Regions from separate parts of the Homo sapiens genome. Here region 2 is linked to region 1. The links are contacts of gene promoters, found by promoter capture Hi-C in human tissues and cell types (Jung and others, 2019). All regions are on one chromosome and are shown on one strand. The core of a region is centred on a gene start or on the middle of the fragment in contact, and the rest is flanking DNA. Distances in the headings are between cores, read along the strand shown.

Region 1 (6,064 bases), core at 2,456-4,955:
TAAAACCAGTGAGAATAAATTGAAAGCTAAAAATAGTCATGTATTTCACAGAGGAACTAGTTAGATTAATTAGGTTCTCCTTATGTCATTTCTTGTCTAGGTATATTTGATTGTCTTTTTTTTTTTTTTCAAAGTCACATTTAATTGAGTAGGTAGCACTATGGGACTGGAAAGCCACCAAAACTCCTTATAGTTTCTCTAGTTTTTTGCAATGTCCTTTTACTACAGGTTATCACAAGTCATGATAATAATGGCATGATTTCCTGGAGAGAATGTGCTCTAAATCTTCCAAGAAACTAGAAAATGGCTAAGGATTTTAAAATGTTTCTTCTTTCCTCTTGGTGTCCAATCTTGTTCTCAAAGCAAATTTTTATAAGCTTGTTTTGGTTACATTTTAATCTTCACAAAAGCAGGGACTTTGTATGTTTTGTTCACTTTTTTTCACTCTGTCATCCAGGCTGGAGTGCAGTGGCGTGATCTCAGCTCCTTGCAACCTCCGTCTCCCGTGTTCTAGCAATTCTCCTGCCTCAGCCTCCAGAGTAGCTGAGACTACAGGTGCATGGTGCCACGTTTGGCTAATTTTTTGCATTTTAGTAGAGACGGGGTTTCACCTTGTTGTCCAGGCTGGTCTCGAACTCCTGAGCTCAGGCAATCCACCTGCCTCGGTCTCCGAAAGTGCTAGGATTACAGGCTTGAGCCACCACGCCTGGCCTTGTTCACTTTTTATTCCAAGGCCTAGAGTATAGTAGGCATTCAATAATTATATGTTGAATAAGTGAATGAATGAATGAATGAATGAATAAATTGTATAAGTAAATAGCACTTGGTACCAGTATATAAAAAAGGCCAAAGTAACTTACATTTTGGGGCTAGGGTATAGGTTTTGGTGTGAAACCACAACCTTAAGCAGCATGCCAAGGGCAAGCCAAAAGATTGTTGTAGGCCGGGCATGGTGGCTTCTGGCACTTTGGGAGGCCCCAAGGCGGGCGGATCACTTGAGGTCAGGAGTTCAAGACCAGCCTGGCCAACGTGGTGAAACCCCGTCTCTCCTAAAAATACAACAATTAGCTGGGCGTCGTGGCTCACACCTGTAGTCCCAGCTACTCAGGAGGCTGAGGTGGGAGAATCACTTGAACTGGGAGGTGAAGGTTACAGTGAGCTGAGATCGTGCCACTGCACTCCAGCCTAGGTGACAGAGCGAGACTTTGTCTCAAACAAAACAAAAACAAAAGATTGTTGTAGGGGAAAAGGTGTGATATCTTTCCTTCCCATAAGGGTCATAGCCAACACACCTATAACAAAAGACAGGCTAACAAGAGAAAAGCACAACACATTTGTTTAATCAAAGTTTTAGGTGACATGGGAACCTTCAGAAATGAAGACGGAAAAACCCAGGGAAACCTGTCTATTTTTTTTTAATAGAGATGGGGTCTCTCTGGTTTAATACAGATGGGGTCCTCCTGGCTCTGCCTACCAAAATGCTGGGGTTGCAGGCATGAGCCACCATGCCCAGCCTGTTTATTTTTTTGAGAGAGTCTCGCTCTGTCCATTTTTGTGCTTAGGTTCAATGAAGAGTGGGCAGCCATGTAGATGTGGTTGGACAAAAGGGTAAGATCCAATGGTAATAGACTGAGAACAGACCCAGTCTGTCTGTTCAGATTCTTCTTGGCCTCTCCGTATAGCTTTCCCTCCTCCTGGGTTTAGAGCAGGACTCCTTTGGAAAGGGGACCTACTATCCAACAAGGTAGGGTAGATAATTTCTTTATTTCTCTATTCTTTATGTCTGCTCTTACACAGAAGAGTGAGGAATGGTAATATTTCTAGGTTTTGTAGCTTCCTTTGGGAAGAGGGGTTTTAGTTTCTATGACCTGCCTTTAGTTTCCATGACTCACTTTGGGGGAGAAAGAGAGGTGGGAGACAGGAGGGCAGAAGGAGGTCAGAGAGAAACTGCTTCTGAGGCCTTTCAATCTCCTTTAGTTCAAAGTACTCAGCATGCCAAAGCACCATGCTTTGTGGTATCATTTTCCAAACCCCAACATGGTATTAAGGCACTTAGAGTTTTTAAAAATACCAATTATATCAAGTAAAAGAATACCTATGGAAACACTTCAAAAATATAAAAGTTACATGATATATTAATATAATTTTTGCATATGTATGACTTATAATCTTATTGTTTGCTTTTTATTTGCAGATTTTGTGACTGAAGGCACTGCACTGTGACCAAAAGTGCCAAATGAGTTTTTTGAGTCTGTGTTAAATACATGAGGTTTCCACTGATGCCTGGAAGAAGCAGATCAGTCTGTGTGGTAACATCAAGGGAAACTTCCATTCCTTGAGAGCCCAAGCGGTAGGAAGCGAACAGATGAAATGGCAGTCTCATTAGAATGGCTGGTGATTTGCTCATTCGACTAATTGAAGGAATTCAACAATTCAAGTCGGAGCTACAAAAGTCACAATTTTGAAGCCCACACAAGAAGGTTTCATTTGAATCTCTGCTCATTTGGAAAGGGAAAAGTCCCTAGGATTGCCCAGCATCCACAACAAAGCAGAGTCTGCTAAATTCCCATCATTTGGGAAGAGGAACTTTTTTTTTTTTTTTTTTTTTTTTTTTTTTGGCTGAACTATCCTCCAGATCTCCTGGGCGGGAGGAAAAAAAAATGGTCATCAGATATGTAGGCAGATGGGCTGTGATCACCACTGGAAGCTCGAAGTATTTGGGGAAACTGAAACTGTCTAGGGATAAAGCTGCCCTGGTTTGTGTGTTTCTGGTTTCACTGATTAAAAAAAAAATCCATCTACCAAGAGTGGATAAATTTTAAAATTCTGCCATGCCCAGTTTTCGAAGCCCCAAATGCGATATAGGAACAGCTGTGGTGTGAATTAGTTGGTCTAAGCTTTTGGGCCGCTTCCAACTTCTCTATTGCTCACGCCCTACAGGTCAAGGAAAGAAGTGATGTAATGCACTTAGCTAGGCCACTTTAATTACAATGGAATGGAGAGGGGGGAGGGGTCACAAGCGGTGACAAGTTTAGCGCATGACTTGCCCTGGGGATGCAGGAAACAAAAACATCGACGACCATTGGCTGCGTTGGCTTCCGACCCCGGGTCTCTAACCGAGCTCCAGGTCTGGAACCTTGAAACACTTTTCCTGGGAAAAGGGGTGGCGCTATCCCATAGAGCGTCAACCTTAAACACAAACAGCACACACGCACCCACGCAGGCTGGCGGCGTCCTCCCTGCTGGGATGGGCGTCGGGCCCAGTGCTTGGCACACGGTCCCCAGGAGCTTCCCCCGAAGGTTCCCCCGAAGCCAGCCACAGCTGCTCAGCTCGGCGCGCGGAGCCCGCGGTGGTACCGAGTCCGCACAAACCCGGACCCGCTCCAAGTGAGCCGCGTTGTCGTCATTCATTCGCAGTGTCCGGAGCGTCCTTCCAGCGGGGAGCTGGGCTTCCCTAGTGGCGCCTGCGGCCCCGACACGGCGCGTTAAGGCGCGGCGACTTCGGGAGCTCGAGCAGGTAGAGACGGGAGGGGCTCTGGAGCTCCAGTCGGCGCCGCGGGAGCAGCAGCGCCGGAGCCCAGCTTGGCCCTGACCGCGGGGCCGAATCCGCTCGGGTGGCCCTTAGCCCTGCCTGGCGCTGAGCCGGATCCCGGGACTGAGCTATACCACTTCCTCCTCCTCCCGCTCCCTTCCTCCTCCTCTTCCTCCTCCTCCCGCTCCTCCCGCCGCCGTGGGCCGGGAGCCGGGCTGCAGAGTGCCAGGCCGGGCGTCTGCGGCCGCGGGCTCTCGCGGGGCGGCGACGCCGCGGGGAGGATGCTGCTTGCCGCGCCCGCGTCCTCACCGTCCTCCCGGGCCGCCTGCTGGGGCTTTGTTGTGGCCCGGACGCCGCGGGCCACCCCCTGAAGTCGCCTGCCGCCGCCGCCGCCGCACCTAGCGGACGGGCGGGCGGGCGCGCGTGTGCCCAGGAGTGCGCGCCTGTCGCGGTGGTGGGTGCAGGACTGGACCCACGGGCCCATTGTGCGCCCGCCCGCGGCAGCCAGGACCATGTGGGTGAACCCGGAGGAGGTGTTGCTGGCCAACGCGCTGTGGATCACCGAGAGGGCCAACCCATACTTCATCCTGCAGCGGAGGAAGGGCCACGCCGGCGATGGAGGCGGCGGCGGCGGACTGGCGGGTAAGGACCGTGGCCGATCCCTGCAGGAGGGGAGCCGGGAGCGCTGCGGCGCCGCCCGCGGCCTGGGCTGCAGGCTCGGGAGACGCCGCCCGGTCCCCTGGGGCTGGGCGACCCGCCCTGCCTCGTTGTATGCGAGGCATCGAGAGTCGTGATGTTCAGGTTGGGCAGAGATGCTTCTTTTTTTGACTCTGTCAGGCTTGGGGCCCTCAGCGTACTGAGCGCTCTTTAAGTGGATATGTTGAGGAGAATGGGAAAGAGTGAGTCTGGGGCGGAGGGAATGTATTATCCCCTATATATTGAATGCATCATTCCCTTCCCCTCCCCCCCTTAAAAATATTGTTTTCCAAATGGAAAAGAGGGATGGAAGAAGGTTAATTTTTGCTCCACTTTCTTTACTGGCAACAGCAGGATCAGGTATAAAATGCTCTTTTGTTTCCAGGGAAGCGATAAGTAAGGAACTGATGTGGTCATTTCCTATATGAGTTATGACCGAAGAGAATGAATACGGAAACAGGAATTTTTTTGTTTCACCTAATTAGACATAAAGCAAAGCAAATTGTCTGGTTCTAGTTGTAAAAATAATTGGCTGTATAACTGCATTTTAACTATTTTTGCTCAATCACTTCTTCCCTAAACCCCCTCCCTTCAAGGTATTATTGTAATTGTTGCTGAAGCCATGTCATATCATTCAGGATAATAAGATCAGTCAGACCCATATCCAAAGTAGTGCCATATTAGAAATAATCTCGAACTCATACCATACTAGAGAAATTGGACCTTCTCCATCTCTGTGTTATTTAGAATGAACAGAACTGGAATACTTTTTACAGTGAAAAAGTTAGCAGAAGAAATAGTAGAGGTTTCACTAGAAAGGAGACTGCAAAAAAGAGATGAACTTTGACCCTCCTCAGAGTTGAGCTTATATCAACCTCATATATCACCTGGAGTTTGCACAATAGGTAAATTGTTGCTTTCAAATGCTGTGCTATGAAATAAAGATTCTTGATATATGTATTTACTTATGATTATATTTATAAACTAATTTTCTTAAGATTAAAATTCAGGTGTCATGTGGTACAATGTATACTGGTATGTTTGAAGGATCTTGATTCTACCAGAAAAGATAAATCTGCAGAGCTCCAGACCCCATTCTGGAAATACTTACTAGTGATCTGATACCAGGATTTTCCAGGTCATTTTGTAGAAGTTATCTAACTCTAAATGTTAATATGTAATTTACATATCTAATATTGGAATCAGCCCACATTGTCCTTTTTTTTTTTTTTTTTTTTTTTTTTTTTGAGACAGAGTCCTGCTTTGTCGCCCAGGCTGGAGTGCAGTGGCGTGATCTCGGCTCACTGCAACCTCCTTCTCCTGGGTTCAAGTGATTCTCCTGCCTCAGCCTCCTGAGTAGCTGGGACTACAGGCATGCACCAACCCGCCCGGCTAATTTTTTTTGTATTTTTAATAGATGGGGTTTCACCATGTTGGCCAGGCTGGTCTTGAACTCCTGATCTCAAATAATCCGCCCACTTTGGCCTCCCGAAGTGCTGGGATTAAAGGCGTGAGCCACCTCACCCGGCCCATGTAGTCCTTTAAGCCTAGGACAACAACACAGAGTAGATAATTTATTGTAGTAAAAAGAGAACATTTCCTTCTGCAATTAACCCTCCTACACCTTGTAAGCATTAAGTATTCATTTACCTGTGTCATTTGTAATAGGATGTGAAAAATTCAGGGATTCAGAGCCTTCTTTTTCTGCTTAACATTTGTATTGTGTTCCTACTGGTTCTTAGAGCTATAACTGACTACGGTCCACTTGAAATCTCATCTTGTCATCAATGACTTCTTTCACTTAGGTAAAATTACATCTTGTAAATTGAGAAATCA
Region 2 (6,064 bases), core at 2,309-4,808, 610 kb after region 1:
GGGAGCGCGCGCGGATGCGGGGCGCGGGTGCGCTCCGCTCTTTGCTCGCGACTCGGGGCTAGCCCGGCAGGTGGAGCGGCTGGGAGGGTTAAGAGGGGAGCGGCCTGGAGGGGGCGGGAGGGGAAAGCAATACCCAGGGTTTGCGCCAAGAGGCCCCACCACACAACTTCGCTTGGGATTCTTTCCTTTTTTCCTTTTAAACTTGCGTGCACGGAGTCTTTCTCCGCTTGGCGCCCCCTGCCCCGCTGCCCGCCAACTTTGGGGGCCTGCTTAATAAGCCCAGAGCAATGGAAGGTAGCAGGGAGGTAAAAGAGGCTTAAATGGCTGGGTGGGCGGGTTCGAGGTAGGATGAGCAGCCAATGGCTTAACTTCTCCAGGAGGAAGGGGCAGTTCCCACCCCCCAAGCCGGAGGCTAGAATCCTTTCTCTTATCTCCCCTCTCCGGTTCTTTTGCTTTCCTTTCTGGGTGAGGGGAGGCCGGAAGCTTGGGAAAGGTGTGTGCCCCCCCCCCCCGCACCGCGCCGCCCGGGTGCTGGGTGGGCCAGGCGACGGGAATCCTGGAGCGTGCCGGGGCCGCGCGCCTTCGCCTGTTTCCCGTGCAGACCGCCCAGCGATCGGCGGCGCAGAGCCCGGCAGGGGCGGCCCTCCCGTCGTGCGGTTTAGAAATCGCACACGTTCCCGGTCTGTGAGTCCCCGGCGCCGGGGTGGTGCCAGTGCTGCCGTGGGCTTTCGCCGGGGGCTCGGGCCGGCGCTCGGTGACAAAGAGTCGGCTTGGGGGAGGGGAGGCGACGCCGCAGTGCTCGCTCCCCACGTCCCCCCACCCCGCACGTGAAGAGGAACAATTTGTTTATCTTGGGCTTCAAGAATCCTTCCCTCCTCCCAGTTCTCCGGGGGCGCTCAACCCCTCCTCCCTCCCCTCCCAGGTCGGCGCGATCCTGCCCAGTCCCGCCGGCAGCACCTTCCCTCCTCCTCTTCCTCCTCCCCCTCCCCTTCCTCCTCCCTTCCTCCTCCTCCAGCCACTCTTGCCCGCCTTCTTCCTCCCTTTTGGAACGTGGCCGTGGGGGAGGGAGCGGGAGGCGCTTTGTCCGCCTCGCGGCCCAGCTCAGACCCCGGGGCCGCTGGGCTGGGAGGGGTGCTGCGCCCCGTGGCCCTGCCCGCTTCATCGCGGCTGTCCCCGCCCCGCCGCGCCCCCCATGCCCCCGCGTCCCTCCTCTCCGCTCCCCCTGCGGCTGAGCCTGCCCCGAGCGCGAAGAAGGGGCCGTCTCGGTTGGTTTTGAGGAAGAACGACAGTTCGAGTCGGGGGAGGTTCTCGCTTTACAAACAGGAAACCGAAAACCACTGACACACTGTAGTTTTTCTGATTGTAGCCGGAGGCGGGGCCGGTCCCGCATCTCGACTGTAGCTCCGGTCCCTTTCTCCAACCTATTTCTCTCCCAGCCCCCGCCCCCCTAGCGCCCTTCCACGGAGGAGGAGATTCACTTTGTGAACCTGAGACTGAGAATTTAAGAGGCACTGAAGGTTTCATGCCTGCCCACCCCGCGTCCTCTTTTCGTGTATTTGTACACCCCACGCGCATGGATTGCGGAGAAATGGGCTCCTTTCGGGAGGCTCCAAAATTCCCGTGCCACAGAATCTCTCACAACCTTTGGGGATCAAGGACTGCTGTGGCGTTTACCTCGCCAGCTGGGGGACCCTGGAACAAAAGCCAGTGCCGTTCCCAGTGCCGGGTCTCTGGACACGGCAAGATGAGTAGAGTTTGCGACCAGAAACTTTCGGTGTTTGGGTTGTGTTCTCTGGTTTCCGCCCTGGTGGAGGGAGGGCTCGGGTGCGCGCGCCTGGTTTGTGATACACTCGCAGGTGGAAGCAAGCCCAGCCTCCTGACCTTACTGGGAAGAAGACAGCAAGCCCAAGCCACAGCTTACTTTTGAAAATAGAAAGATAATGCTTGCTTCAATAGACAGAGACATCAGCTGTAGATTTCATAGTGAATCCCAGTTTAGCAAATTAGCAACAAATAGACTTGAAAGATGACTGCGTGAAAATAAAATTTTCTGTCATTTTATGACAATGATTTAGCCTGTTGATTAGACTTACGCACTAATAAATGCCAGGGCTGTGTACAGAATAGGAGTGTATTTTAGCTTCAGCTGTTTCACATGCATCTCTCACTGGTATGTGTGATGAGTGTGATGAATGTAATGTAAGCCTTAACTCTTAAGCAGAGTTGCAAGTAAATTCTGTGTACCAAAAAAAAAAAAAAAAAAGAAAGAAACATGCTCTACAAGTTATATTTCCTTTTAAAATAATTAGTTTAAAAGTTAACCTTGGCTTCTGAGAGTATTTTAACAGTCTGTATTGAGGTAAAATCTCAAAAATAGAGGTTGTAAAGAAAACGTTGCTCTTCATTTTCTTGAATTGACTGCAGGATTATAGTTGTACTCCAGTGAGGCACAGAACAATTAAATGTAGTTCTCAGATTGGGCGCTCTATTTGGAAAGCCCTAAAGAAAAACAATGATCACCCACAACCAAATAATAATAACGGTGATATAAAAATAAAGATGAATAGGATTCTTTACTGTTTCATTGGTATTGTTTACTTTCTAAGGACCAATATGTCCGAAGTACTAAATATCGATTAATTATCTTTCTGCCTCGCTTGGATTAAGAAGGCAGTCTAATGAGGGCTTTGCCTCTTTTGATTTGTTTTCCTATCTTACACATTTACAAGAATGGGCATGAAAAACAACAACAAAAAAATAGCAAACAAAAAGCAGAGTGGGTGAGGGGTAAAAAATTTTCCTTGGCTCCAGGCTGCCACAGAGGGGGCTGGGTTCTGTGTGAGTCCTCACCAGCCCTGTTGATAGAGCAGGTGGCACAGACCTGGGTTTGAAGCTGCACTACCTCAGGTATTAGGTCCGTTCTGAACATGTAGTCAAATGATCCCATCCCAACCACCACCACTTTATTGACATAGTTTTTTTCTTCCCCTCAAAGACTTGGTGAAAATTATTGACTTCACCTATCAGAGAGCCTCAGTTGAAAAGATGGCTTTTAATTATTTGTGGTAACAAAAGGGGGCATTGTTTATTTGCTGTATTTGGAACTGAGGTCCTGGTTAAAATTTTAAGGCAAATTTCAATTGACAAGTACATTTTCAAGCTGAGCAGGCACATCAAAAAGCATGACAGTGCACAGTTTTCAAAATTTTAAAATGGTGATAGTCTTAGTTGACTTAGATAAGACCATATTATTTTCATGACCTCTTCACTGTATTAGCACCATCGTAACTTTCAGAGTGTGCTTAATTTATATACAGCTTACAGACTGCATAAATCTATGTGACCCCTGTTCTGAAGAGCTTATCACAAAAAATTCATAACATGCATTTAATAATAAATGCGTTATTACCGAGTATTGGAGACAACTACAACCCATCCAAAATGTTCCATCCATTCCTGGAATAGATTCAGGAAATGTCAACATATTAGTCCACTGCTGAATGTCCTTATACGTTAATCTGGCTTCCCATTTCTTACCCTGTTGAAGGTAAATTACTGGCTCTGTATCAATTTTTTTGGCAAGCTCGTATTACCAAGCTATTTCTACATCTTCCCTATGATAACCTTTTCTTTGGCTTATCCTGTTCTGCCGCTAGCATGGGTAACAGGACAGACTGTCTTTCGGAAAGCTTTCCATTGCCCAACACAGCATGCCTTAAGTTTGTGGAAAACTTTTTGAAATTTTGTTTTTTCTGTCCTTCATATGTATTTTTTTCTTTTAATTCTCAAGAAGCATTTTTTTAAGCTCCAATACATGTTTAATTCTATTATGTTATTTGGTTGTGGTATATTTTATTTAGTACTGGGCAGCCAGTGGTCAGAAAAGTAGAAGCAGAGTTAGTTAAGCATTAATCATAATCTACAAAATGCTCTTCAAGCTGAGTTCCTTCCCAGGGAAAGCCAAGTTTTCAGGAAGCTAGTATGCTTGATACTTTCTATCCTGTCTCATTAGAATTATAAGGGCAAACTTTAGAATCTTTTTTAGGATTTCTGCCACCTGATAGGAGAAAAATGGGCAGTCCTGTACATAGTTTACTGACATCTCTGGAAGAAGAAGGATGAGGAATTTAATAGTAAAATAGAGTTATATGGAGTTATTTTCTGAATATCGCTGTGAGACTAATGGCCAACTGTTGTTAAAGAAGTTTTCCTGCCCATTTGGTTGAGATAGGAATATAAGGCATTTCTCTCTCTCATGCATGCACGTGCACACACACACACACACATTCACTCATTCACTCACTCACCCTGGTGTGAGTGTCATAGAAGGGATCCAGTGTAAGAACCTGTTTTGCATGTTAAATAGTAATTCTTGGATATATTTGAAGTACTTGTGTGATTACTGTTCCCTGTTTGTTAAGTAACAGTCCTGTCTTATACTCTTGAGCTTAAAAAGGCTAAATTCTGTTGTCTTTTTCCACATTACCCATCTTGGAGAACTGTGAAATCAATCAAACAGACATCAGACTCTTATAAAGAGGAACATATTTAAAACTCACTGTCAAGATTTTCATAGTGTCTACCTTTTAAGTCTCCCAAATAGCTTTACATTTTTCACTCTATTATTCAAAGGCTGATGGTTGAGTTTTCAGATCCCCTGGCTGCTTGCTTTGTTTTTCCTTCCCCCCACCTGCTGCCAACCTTTTGGTCTTTTCAGTGATCTTTAACACCGTTATCAAAGAGTGGGAAGAAGCAATAAGAAGAGAAAAAATTTAATTTTGGTGCTCCTGACTCTCAGAACTAATGAAACAATCAGATACAATACCATTTTGGATTTAGTATGGATTTGCCTTTATTCTTACTTAGCACAAATAATAAAGACTGAGTTTCTAATTTCATTCATTCATTCAGCAGCATTGGTACATTGTCCATAGTGTTTCATGGAAGTTAAGATACTAAATCACGCTCTTGCATCCAAGACTTTGACAATATATATTCTCTGTAGATTTTCAGTATTATTCTAGCCAGATTCAAGGGCGTAACAATTTTTTTTTTTTTTTTTTTTTTTTTTGAGATGGAGTCTCACTCTGCCGTCAGGCTGGAGTGAAGTGATGCAATCTCGGCTCACTGCAAGCTCTGCCTCCTGGGTTCAAGTGATTCCCCTGCCTCAGCCTCCCGAGTAGCTGAGACTACAGGCATGTACCACCACGCCTGGCTAATTTTTTGTATTTTAGTAGAGACAGGTTTCACCATGTTGGCCAGGATGGTGTCGATCTCCTGACCTTGTGATCTGCCCACCTCAGCCTCCCAAAGTGCTGGGATTACAGGTGTGAGCCACCGCACCCGGCCAGATTTTTAAAAATCAGTATAGTCATTGGCACTAACGACAGCAGTTTCAGGCTTCAGGGTGTTATATCACCTTTCCATGATTTTTAAGGAAAATATTATAATATGCTTTACTTTCCTGTTGTTTCATACCAATTTGACATTGGTATCTGCCAAATAAGTTAATTTGCAGATGACTGCTCCAAAATTACAGTATCCCCCCACAAATTAAATTTTTATTACAAATACAGCCTGCTTTCCAGACAGATTCCAAAAATTCACTATTTAGTTTTGTGACTTGGAAATGTAGCTTCTGAAAAATCAGCTGTCACCAAGAACTGATTAATTTAGTTTAATTTTTTTGTTGTTTAAATCTAAGAAAGTTTAAAGAACAAAAGAAATAGGGTTAGATAAAATTATGCAGAAAATGGAGTTGAGGGCCTGCTGTATAATAAATACTTAAAGATCATGGGGTTCCATTCAGTGGATCAGAGAAGGAGCACACTTTTTTTAAAGTCTACTTGGCAATTCCATCTGTTAAACAGTGGAGGGGTTTTTGAGTTCCTTTCTCCATTTGGGACAGAAGCACAGCATTCGGCGTTCTCTGAGGGCCGCATGCACGCATGGATAGGAGCAGGAAGTTACTACTATGGCAAGCTGTGTATACTATTCTTGGAGAAATTTAATTAAAAAATCTCAAAAGGTGGCCGGGCACAGTGGCTCATACCTGTAATCCCAG

What was found. The method cuts DNA at HindIII sites, captures the fragments that hold promoters and counts their contacts. A contact is called where the count stands out against the background at its distance.
Region 2: a fragment that was not itself captured here is called in contact with the fragment with the promoter of TBC1D9 in region 1 in 1 of the 25 tissues and cell types used here (heart left ventricle).

What each region holds. Positions count from the first base shown.
Region 1 is chr4:140,754,026-140,760,089 of GRCh38, reverse strand. It overlaps TBC1D9 (TBC1 domain family member 9), which reads left to right and starts at 3,705. Exons shown (of 21, transcript NM_015130.3): 1 at 3,705-4,174. The coding sequence starts at 4,045. RefSeq lists enhancers at 3,183-3,232, 2,723-3,364, 3,365-4,007 and a silencer at 3,663-4,352. The HindIII fragment of the contact is 15,545 bases long and covers 1,638-6,064 here.
Region 2 is chr4:140,146,139-140,152,202 of GRCh38, reverse strand. All of the region lies in intron 1 of MAML3 (mastermind like transcriptional coactivator 3), which reads left to right. Among named protein-coding and RNA genes, the nearest start is that of MAML3, 5.0 kb to the left of the region's middle. RefSeq lists enhancers at 458-1,300, 1,301-2,145. The HindIII fragment of the contact is 8,266 bases long and covers 1-6,064 here.